2 separate regions of the Homo sapiens genome follow, and region 1 is linked to region 2. The links are contacts of gene promoters, found by promoter capture Hi-C in human tissues and cell types (Jung and others, 2019). All regions are on one chromosome and are shown on one strand. Each heading gives the region's core, a stretch centred on a gene start or on the middle of the fragment in contact. The rest is flanking DNA. Distances are from core to core; before and after follow the strand shown.

What was found. Contacts are between HindIII fragments. The study calls those that stand out against the background at their distance.
Region 1: a fragment that was not itself captured here is called in contact with the fragment with the promoter of TACO1 in region 2 in 4 of the 25 tissues and cell types used here (dorsolateral prefrontal cortex, hippocampus, liver and 1 more).

Annotation. Positions count from the first base shown.
Region 1 is chr17:63,679,258-63,684,872 of GRCh38, reverse strand. MAP3K3 (mitogen-activated protein kinase kinase kinase 3) reads right to left here. Exons shown (of 16, transcript NM_002401.5): 7 at 2,974-3,107. LOC101927898 (a long non-coding RNA gene) reads left to right here. Exons shown (of 3, transcript XR_243740.4): 3 at 2,115-2,537. Among named protein-coding and RNA genes, the nearest start is that of LIMD2, 18 kb to the left of the region's middle. The HindIII fragment of the contact is 5,321 bases long and covers 1,384-5,615 here.
Region 2 is chr17:63,596,763-63,602,248 of GRCh38, reverse strand. It overlaps TACO1 (translational activator of cytochrome c oxidase I), which reads right to left and starts at 1,354. Exons shown (of 5, transcript NM_016360.4): 1 at 886-1,354. The coding sequence starts at 1,165. The HindIII fragment of the contact is 17,557 bases long and covers 1-3,837 here.

The sequences.
Region 1 (5,615 bases), core at 2,795-5,294, 80 kb before region 2:
TTTTCTCTGCACAAAAGTTGGGGTGGGGTCTTCAATTTCAGAATATTCATTATCCGAGCTCCAACATTAAACATTACATAGGGGCCAGACTTGGTGGCTCATGCCTGTAATCCTAGCACTTTGGGAGCCGAGAGGGAAGGATCACTTGCACTCAGGAGTTCAAGACCAGCCTGGGCAACATAGTGAGATCTTGTTTCTGTTTAAATATTTTTTTAATTAATTTTAAAAAATTACATAGGGAAACAAAGTATCAGAATTATGAAAATTCACTAACGACCTCCATAAAATTAGTTTCCAACTCAAATATTTTTTCCCATTTAATACCAGGGTCCATCCCCACCCATAATTTCAAATGCTTTAAGTCATGTTGTCACACATGATTTTTTAAAATCTGCCAATCAAGGCAAATTAATTGCAAAGTAAAACTGCAAATGTTGCTAAGGATATAGGATAGCCAAAGTGGATGAAACCAACATCGGAGAGAATTGCTTTAAATCCATCAGATGCATATTTGGCAAATTTAGACTAGTTAACAGAAAAAGACAAAATGGACAAATAAATAACATGGCAGGTGTGGTGGAGGAAGAATACCAAAGATTCACAAGAGGCCTTGGGGAAAACTGCTGAGTCCTGTGAACGCTCTTGTAAAAAATGACGTTCTTTATGGTTAGAAGTCAAGCAGGGAGTGAAGGACGTTACATTGTGCTAGCATTTTGTTGTTGGTGCTGTTGTTCGAGACAGGGTCTCATTCTGTCACCTAAGCTGGAGTGCAATTCACTGCAGCCTGGGCTCAAGTGATCCTCCCACCTCAGCCTCCCGAGTAGCTGGGACTACAGGCAGGTGTGCCACTATGCCCAGCTAATTAAATTTTTTTTTTTTGTAGAGACAGGGTTTTGCTATGTTGCCCAGGCTGGTCTTGAACTCCTGACCTCAAGCAATCCTCCTGCCTTGGCCTCCCAAAGTGCTGGGATTACAGCTATGAGCCACTGCGACCGGACTGACATAATTTTTGTTGGAAAAATTAGGCCAAAAAATTAACATGAATCATGCTTTGCTCATTCTAAAAATTAGTAAATAGATGCAATTATTGCTTAAACCTGATTAAAGAAAAAACAAAACTTATCATATTTTCACTTTTCAGTAAAGTCACACTGGAATATTCTTTTATTACATACTATGCAGTGTTCGTTCCTGTTAAGCAGATTGATCTCAAATGGCCTGTTACCAGGAGCAATTCTCTTCAGCTAAAGAGGCAGGCGCTGGGGGAGGACCTTGGCAATCCCCAACCACTGCCTTCCTTGGCCTCTTTCTAAAAGTCTGTCCTCACTGGGAGTCAAATCCTCCCAGGCCTTCCAGGGCCATGCAGGCAAAGTAAAAAAGTGAAGGGGGCAGAGTATAGGACCATGGCGAGGGACATAGACTGAGGGCAATCAAGCTCATCTGCAATCTCTGGGATTTTACACCCAAGTCACCCCTAGAACAGCTGATGTCCAGAAGTGCCCTGGTTAGAGAAACCAGAAAGGATGGTCAGTAAAATGCCCAAAAAGGAAATCTGCAGCTAATGGCACTCCAGGTCACTACTCCAAACATGAATTTATCTGGAAGGCAGGAGTATAGAAGGAAGAAGAGTACAAAGGGCTTCTCATAGCCTACATAGTTTGAATAATGAAAGAAAAGTTACAAGAATCAGCTTTTTATAAGATCTCCCATGTGACAGCACAGGCCCTTCTGTTGGACATTTTCCCCTTAAGAAATTTCCCCTTCTCAGGCCAAGCCCAGAAAGTGTAAGAGCAGCCTTTTCTTTTACATCAAAGCAAGTTTATTGAAAAGACCAGAATGAAGCTAGAGATCTCATGCTTGGTGAGTTCACTAAGCCAAATTGCCATTTGCATCAAGTAAGCCACCAATTTAAAAGCTAGCCACTAAAATGGCTGAGCCACTGTGGTAGACACACCCTAAGGTGATTGCTCCCTCTTCCAATTAGTCCCAATGAACTGCCTTTCCCTTTAGTGCAAGTAGAACCTGTGACGTGAGTCTAGCCAATAGACTATGGCAAAGAGGATAGAATATTCATTCCTATGATTATGTGATGTTTTATGACTCCATCTTTGCAGATTGGAGCAAAAGATTCTCCTGCTGGCTTTGAAGAAGCTGCCATGTTGTGAGAGGGCCCCATGGCAAGGAACTGCAGGTGGCCTCTAGGAAGGGAACTCAGAGAAGCCCTTGGGTGACATTCAGAAGAAAAGAGGAACCACAGTCCTACAGCCACAAAAAAACTGAATTCTGGCAACAACCATCTGAGCTTAGAAAAGAGCCTCAAACTCAAGAAAGGCAGGCAGCCTGGCTGACACCTTGATCGCAGTCTTGTGTGACCCTCAGCAGAGGACCCATTTGAGTCATGCCTGGACTCCTCACCCAGGGAAACTGGAAAATGATAAATGTATATTGTTTTAAGCCTCTAGGTTTGTGGTAATTTGTTATGGAGCAATAGATAACTAATACAACTGTCTACCATCATAAATGATCAGCCTAACCAATCCTACAGTGTAATTTTGATATGGTTTACTCCTTACCTTTCATCAAGAAACAGCAAAACTAAAATATATCCAATGAAAAACATAACCTGTCACTTTAGAACCAGTCGTATGTTAAAACACTACTGAAATGAGCTGGGCGTGGTGGTGCCTGCCTGTAGGAACAATGAGAGGACCACGATGAAGAAAAATCTGTTAAATCCTCACCCAACAACAAGGAAACTATGTAGTTTAGATCCTTTAGATCCCATCTTTGGCAGAAATTGTTATTTGGCCCTTAAAAAGGGACAATCCATATTTGGGCAGGCCTGGTTTATAAAAGAGCTTTCAAATGGGGTTCATGTCCCTCAGTTCTGCACTGTGACTACTAAGAACCCCTTGTTATGAGCTTGGTCTGCTGATACAGGCCACAGGCATATCCCAGCCCCCCTATACTCACGCACTGCTCGCTGGTCTCTGGGATGAACTCCCCCTCACTGTTGATGCTGGTGTAGGACCCCTGCCGGGCAATGTGCTGCTGCCGCTCAGGAACATAGCCAGGGGGAGGTGAGCTTCGGCCAGGGTTCTGGGAGCCTAGAGCACATAAAGGAGGCTTTCAACAACAGAGCCCAGGGTGTGTGGCCCAAGAGGAGCAGGCATGGGGCCAACTATTAGGCCCTAGAGGTCAGGAATGTGACTCAGATGGGTCATGGCACCAACGTCCAGCATGTGCCAGCTCCCTCAGGCAAACAAAGTCCCTTCCTAATAGGAAACAAACTCCAGAGATGGAGCAGGCACTACGGCATATCCGACCAAAAAAACCTTGACACAAAACAGAAACCAGAATAACCCCTAGGAGACCATTTTAGCTGGCAATCAGACTAGCTTTTAAAAAAATTCTTATATATAATTACTCCTTCATAATGTCACCTTCTCTCTTCCTCTAGAGCACTAATGCCATTTCCTCCCATCAGCTCAATACATCAGCTTAGTCCTCTTTAGTTTTGGGTCCAAGCAGTATTTTGAGGGTGGGGACCAGGGAAAGGTAACTGAATATACCTGTGCATCTCTCTCTGTTGCCCTGTTCCCCCAGCCAGTGTCTCCCCTTATTTGTTCTCTACTTGTATCAGGTAAAAAGGCCTTCGTGATGGTCTGGCCAGGATCAAAAGGCAGGCTTCTCCATTCCTACCCACTCCCACACTTCCTGGCTTATGAGTAATGATATTACCTTTTTTTTTTTTTTTTTTAAATTGAGACAGGGTCTCACTATGTTGCTCAGGTTGGTCTGAGTAATGATATTATCTTGCATTTATGTGGTGCTTTACTTTTTGTTACACATTCACAGTAATTAACCTCATTTGATTTTCAACATCTCTACAACAGAGGTTTGGCAAATATTTTTTGAGTGGCTGCTAAGTGGCAATCATTCCACAAGGTATTTTTACATTTGTTACTTCACTTAATCCTTTCAACAATCCTGAGAGGTAAGCATTTGCTTTACTTAACAGAGGAGGAGACGGAGACTCAAGGAACTTAAATCTTAAAAAAAAAAAAAACCCAAAACACCCAAAAACAATTATTTATGTTTTACAGATAAGAGACTATAAAACCAATTAACAGGTACTTTCACCACATCAGCTTGTAAGATGAAATGGTTTATCATCCTAATGTTAGTGAATGACAGAGGTGTGCAGTCTTACAAATGACACACTTTGTAAGTCACTGAGCAATGTTTTTCTGCCATAAGGGATTTTGAGTCCGAGAAATCAGGTCCTCCTTCCTCCTAGCCCAAGAGCTTTTTCTGACTGGCTGTGTTGCTTTCCATGATCAGAGAAGACAAAAATGAGGCCAAAAGTTTGCATCTTTTTTCCTTCCTAAGCTCACCAAACCAGAAGAGCCAATTTTCAGAAGGTTTAAAAAAAGCTTTAACTATACCCACACAAATATTTCTTGTAGCTTCAAAACTTAAACGTAAGACTCTTATCCTGAACCCTTTTCCTGTTCTGAAGGGAACAAATTTATCCTGTTGTTTAGAAAACCAGAGACACAAGAGCCCTCCATTCCCTTATCTACCACCCCTTACCTCTCTCCCACGACCCAGCAATTCCCAGACACCAGGAATAGAGTAGTACCATCCCTCAACAATGCAGGTTACTTTCCTTGCTGGCTGGTTTCTCCAGTCTAGTTCAGGGGCTGTAGCACTAGGTTTTCTGAAATGGAACTGCAGGCAAGATGCTCTGTGGAAATGGCTAAGGAAGCAAGAGAGACCAAGTTTGGTAGCTGGAGACCTAGGGAAGTACCTGACTCATTCTATTCTGTTTTGTTGTTTTGTTTTGTTTCAGAGACAGGGTCTCACTCTGTTGCCCAGGCTAGTCTTGAGCTCCTGGGCTCAGGCAATCCTCCCCCTTCAGCTACAGGCAGGTGCCACCATGCCTGGCTTCTCTCCTTTCTTGATGATAGATCCCTAGTCCAGACCAGTTTTAGATGGAAAATCTGAGATACACAGTTTTAGTTTTATGTATGTGTGTGTGTATACATGTTTATACATATATGTATATATATTTCCTATTGCTCAAAAACTCATGTGTGGCCAGGTGCAGTGGCTCACACCTATTATCCCGACACTTCGAGAGGCAGGAGAAATGCTTGAGGCCAGGAGTTTGAGACCAGCATGGGCAACATGGTGAGACCCCATCTCTACAAAAAATATTTTAAAAATTAGCCAGGCGCACACTTGTGGACCCAGCTACTTGGAAGACTGAGACAGGAGGACTGCTTGAGCCTGGGAGGTTGAGGCCGCAGTGAGCCGTGTTTGGACCACTGCACTCCAGCATAGGTGATAGAGTGCGACCCTGTCTCATAGACAAAACAACAAAGCTCATGTGGAGCCAGGAGCACTCAGCCTGTACCTGGAAGTAGAGGTAGTGCACCAGGGACTAAGCATCTACAGCAGAGGGTGCTCAAGAGCCCAGTCCAGGGTCTTAGAACATCCCGGAAAAGAGGGTGGGCCTGACAGACTGATGGAGCTCAACAAACTCCCTGAGCCAGAGAGACTCCCACTATTTCAAAGACCCTCAGAAGGAAGAAAAATACTTAATGGAA
Region 2 (5,486 bases), core at 105-2,604:
CTCTGTCACCCAGGCTGGATGGAGTACAGTAGAGCAATCTCGCTTACTGCAGCCTTCAACTCCTGGGTTCAAGCAATTCTCCTGCTTCAGCCTCCCGAGTAGCCAGCATTACAGGCATGCACCACCATGCCCAGCTGTTTTTTTTTTTTTTTTTTTTTGTTATTTTTAGTAGACACAGGGTTTCCCCATGTTGGCCAGGCTAGTCCTGAACTCCTGACCTCAAGTGATCTGCCTGCCTCTGGCCTGGGATTACAGGCTGTGCCACTGCGCCCAGTCCAAAGTCCATGCTTTCTACAGGACTTTTCCTTTGCTCCTACAGATGTCTGGCCCTAAACAGAAAAAAAGCCTTTTCAGTGTGGCGACCTAAGGGAGAAAAGACATGGCTGCAAATCTACCTTCCAAGGAAATGTGTCTTGGGGAAACATTAATGAAGCAAACTAAGGCCTAAGCTAAGGCCTAAGCACTTAAGTAATAGCTTTACTCAGTGCCCCTGCCACAACCAATAAGGTACTTGAGGCGACTTCAGAGGGGTTGATTTGTCTCTTCAGGAGAGACACACATCTGCCCTGACTCTTAGGGCTTGTTTCTATTAAGTACCCAGCTAGATTAGGATGAAGTCACTTCTACCTTACCGGCTTATCTTCTTAAGAGCAGCTCCCTCTCTGACAAACTGGCCAGATGCTCAGCGTCTGGAAAAGTGAGTGAGAACCTCCAACGTAGGGTAGGTGTTTTGAGGATTTATGAGGTGGGCAATGGTGGGTACTGGGGAAGGAAAACAAAGTGAAGGGCCGGAGATCTAGGTGGGCCCAATTCCGAGAGGCAAGCGAGGCTGCGGGCACTGAGAGGGCAGCGGCAGCCAGTGCTGGGTGACCGTCAGGGTCTCACCTTTCACTGCCAGGCGGATGTTCAAACAGAGTTTGGAGAAGATGCGACTCCTTTCGACGTCCTTCGGACCCTTGATGTGCCTGACTTTGGACCACTTGTTGTGCCCGGCGGGGACAGCCGCGGTAAAGTGCAGCGTCCTGCCCGGAGCGGCACCGCAGCCCCGGGGCTCGGGGTGGGAGGGCCGGGGGTCGCGCGGAGGAGCCGCCCTGACCCCGGGGCCTCGTGCCAGCAAGCATCGGGCAGCGGCCCTGCTTAGGCTGGCAGCAGCCCAAGCCGACATCGGTCCCGACCCTGGGGTTCAAGCTGCTAGCAGCAGCGGCCAACGCCGGCGCGTCTCTTCCACTGCCGGAACAAGCAGTTCCGGACCCCGCGGCCGCCTGTGCCGGTCACCTGAGATCCAAAGGCTTGGGCCCGCCCGGGGCGGCTCAACAGCTAATGACCCTACACTGTCCCCGCGGCACCCGGGACTGGGGGCCCTTGATGGCGTAGCACACTTCCTTTACCGGGTTCGCTCCAAAAACACGTCCCCACTGCCCGCAAAGTCCGTTCCGTGGCTGCACGGTACTCGCTCCTCTCTTGCCCTTGAGCAGATCTAGTTAGTGCTCAAGCCCTCACGGTTGCCTAGAGAGCGCCGGACTTTGTTTCTCATAATGTTTTAGTGGAGACACATCTGAGTTATGAAACTGACTTTGCTTCCAAATTGCTGCCTAAATCTGAGCAAGTCCAGAATGATATTTTGTTGTTGCCTCATTGTACTGGGAAAGAAACTGCTGCCAGAGAAGTGAATTGCCCAAATGTTTAATCTCTCTGAACGTCTTCCCTATTTATAAATAAGGATCTAATATTTGCTTTATCAACATAGGAAAGTTAGAAACACAAAATGAGCCCTTAGAGCTTTAAAGTAATAAAGTTTTATGTAAATAGCCACAGTGCACTTAAGCCCCTAGATGCAAGAGATGGTTTGGGACAGACTCAGATGAGTCACAGGCCTTTGGGAGAGGGAGAATGATCAGACAAGCCCTTTGGAGCTAAACTCCCCTCTTCATTTTCTCTCTGCTGTCTCGAAAGAGAAAACCGAATCCGTTAGAAGATGGAGAGAAACAAAGCGGCAGCTGCTGAAAAGCTTTGTAGTGACTCCCATGCTGGTGAGATTAAGTCCAAAGGGCATGACATATCAGGTAGAGAAGCAGGACAGCCGGGCGCGGTGGCTCACGCCTGTAATCCCAGCACTTTGGGAGGCTGAGGCAGACGGATCGCTAGGTCAGGAGTGCCAGACCAGTCTGACCAACATGGTGAAACCCCGTCTCTACTAAAAATACAAAAAAATTAGCCGGCCGTGGTGGCGCGCGCCTGTAATGCCAGCTACTCAGAAGGATGAGGCAGGAGAATCGCTTGAACCCGGGAAGAGGAGGTTGCAGTGAGCCGAGATCGCGCCACTGCACTCCAGCCTGTGCGACAGAGCGAGAATCCAACTCAAAAAAAAAAAAAAAAAAGAGAGAGAGAGAGAGAGAGAAGCAGGACAGTGTGAAGTCCAAGTTTGTGCCCTCTGCAGTTAGACTGGGTGGCTTCAAACCCTGGTTGTTCCATTTTCTAGTGTATCCTTGGGCAAGTTCCTTTACTTTCCTGTTTCAGTTTCCTTACCATAGAATGGCCTTGTGAGGACTAAATGGGATAATGGATGCAAAGCACAAAAGCATAGATTTTTTATTTTTTATTATATAAGAACCTCCATGGGGCTGGGTGCGGTGGCTCACGCCTGTAATCCTAGCACTTTGGGAGGCCGAGGCTGGCAGATCACTTGAGGTCAGGAGTTCAAGACCAGCCTGGTCAACATGGTGAAACCCCGTCTCTACTAAAAATACAAAAATTAGCCAGGTGCGGTGGGTGCCCATAGCCCTTCATACATGCTTGCACCTTAGCACTTACCTTTTAAAAAAATATCAAAATGTTTATATCTGTTTCTACCGTAATACTAAATTCTCTGAGAGTAGGACTGTACTTCCTATGCCCAACACAGTTCTCATTTTTTAAAAAATTAAGTTTTGACATATTTCACAGATCACACAGATCACCAATTCAAAGTGTACAATGTGTTATAGAATATTCAGAGCTGTGCACAATTGATTTTACATTTTCATCATCCCCAAAAGAAGTCCTGTACCCATTAGCAATCATTCCCTATTTCCCCCCAATTCCCACAGCCCTAGGCAATCACCAATTTACTTCTGTCTCTGTGGGTTTGCCTCTTCTGGACATTTAATATGAATGGGCCCACACACTATGTGGCCTTTGGTAACTGGCTTCTTTCACTTAGCATGATGTTTTCAGGATTCTTGCATGTTGTAGCATGTATCAGTATTTCATTTCTATTGCCAAATAATATTCCATTGTATGAATATACCACGTTTTATTTATCTGTTCATCAGGCAATGGACATGTGGTTGTTTCCACCTTCTATGATGAATAATGAGGCTGTGAACATTCATGTACACATTGCTGTGTGGACCTATGTTTTCACTTCTTTTAGTTATATACCTAGGAGTGGAATTGCTGGGTCATATCATAACTATGTTTAACCTTTTGTGGGATTGCCAGACTGTCTTCTAAAGTGGTTGTATCATTTTACATTCCCACCAGCAATATATGAGGGTTTAATTTCTCCATATCATGAATTTTTTTTTTTTTTTTTTGCTTTGTTACCCAGGCTAGAGTCCAGTGGAGCAATCATAGCTGACTGCAGCATAGAACTCCTGGGCTCAAGTGATCTTCCCATCTCAGTCTCCCAAGTAGATGAGATTACAGGTGTGAGCCACTGGCTAAATTTGTTATTCTTTTTGACTATAGTTATCACCATCCTTGTGGGTGAGAAGTATTATCTCATTGTGGTTTTGATTGTATTTCCTGAATGACTACTAATGGTAAGCATCTTTTCATGTGCTTATCAGCCATTCATATATAGTATTACTTTTTGCAATTTAAAAATAGTTTATTCAGGCCAGGCATGGTGGCTCACACCTGTAATCCCAGCACTTTGGAAGGCCGATTTGGGGCAGATAATGAGGTCAGGAGATCGAGACCATCTTGGCTAACACGGTGAAACCCCGTCTCTACTAATAATACAAAAAATTAGCTAGGTGTGGTGGCACGCGCCTGTAGTCCCAGCTACTCAGGAGGCTGAGGCAGGAGAATCGCTTGAACCCAGGAGGCGGAGGTTGCAGTGAGCCGAGATCGCGCCACTGCACTTGAGCCTTGGTGACAGAGCGAGACTCCATCTCAAAAAAAAAGAAAAAAATATATATGTAATATTTACTTTGAGAAGCAAAAATCAAATTAATGGAATTTGTAATCACAAATAAGTGTAGAGGCTAAAACAAGGTTTGAGACTGCCCTAGTCCAGTCAGCCTGAGACCAGCAAGGGAAACCTATAGTCTCACAGAGTTAGGCTTATCAACTCACTGCAACAAGGGAGACTGCACACCAGAGGAATGGTGAAGTGTCTTACCGAAGAAAAAACTGGTCATAGAATTATGGGGAAGGGTGGAAGTTAGGTGAAAAATTAGAGTTAGGCTCAAAGAAACACAGACCTGTGTGAAAGGCGGATTAAGATCAGCTGGACTACCAAGTGGACCCAGGGGATCAGTTTCCCTGGAAAGTACAAAGTCAAGGTAAATGTGGACTGTTGTGTTCAGAAGCCCCTGCTCTGAAGCACAATACCTGGCCTGGAAATCAAGGCTGCTTCTCTGTCAGAGTGACTCAGCTCCTCCAAGCAAGACTGACTATAAGCCTTAATTCTCACAAATACAATTGCAAACAGCAAACTTTGTCAGCCTATGATTTTGGAGAACGAAATTTCTCAGTGAATTTTTTTAAAACAGTAGTCACTCAGGGAGTTTTGACACTTTATGTTGCCAAAAAAAGAAAAAAAAATTGCAGTGTGTTCTTGATAGAGGTACTATATCCTGTTAACTGTGCAGCTGGTTTTATCTGTCTGTGCATCTGTGATGAATGGCAGGGCAGATTTTAACTCTCAGTCTGAGTTAATAGCCACCTTTCAAGATAAATTCATAGTTGACTGAACCATCTCTAGACGCCTGGCTGTCAGGCTCACTGAAATCACTTAAGTAACAATGAGCCTTGGAAGCTAAAGACTGGCTACAAATATCATTCCATTAGGTTTGACCATGTGTTGTCCAGTACTAACAGCTCTCAATGAATGAGATTACATTAGTTATTAGTCCAGATACTTAGCCGATTTGCTAGTATGGCTGAGACATAATTATTCACTACTTCACTTCCTTTTCCAGGGTACACAGGAAGACTACATTTCTTGACTTGACCTTCCTTGCAGTTGGCAGATAGGAGCAAAAGTGAGTAAGCCACTTCCCGGCCCATCCTGAAAAATGTACTCCCTCCCACCCCCCATAAGCAACCTGGAGGTCACACGTTTATTTTTATTTTTTGAGATGGAGTCTTGCTCTGTTGCCCAGGCTGAAGTGCAGTGGTGCGATCTTGGCTCACTGCAACCTCCACCTCCCGGGTTCAAGCTATTCTCCTGCCTCAGCTTCCCAAGTAGCTGGGACAACAGGCGTGTGCCACCATGC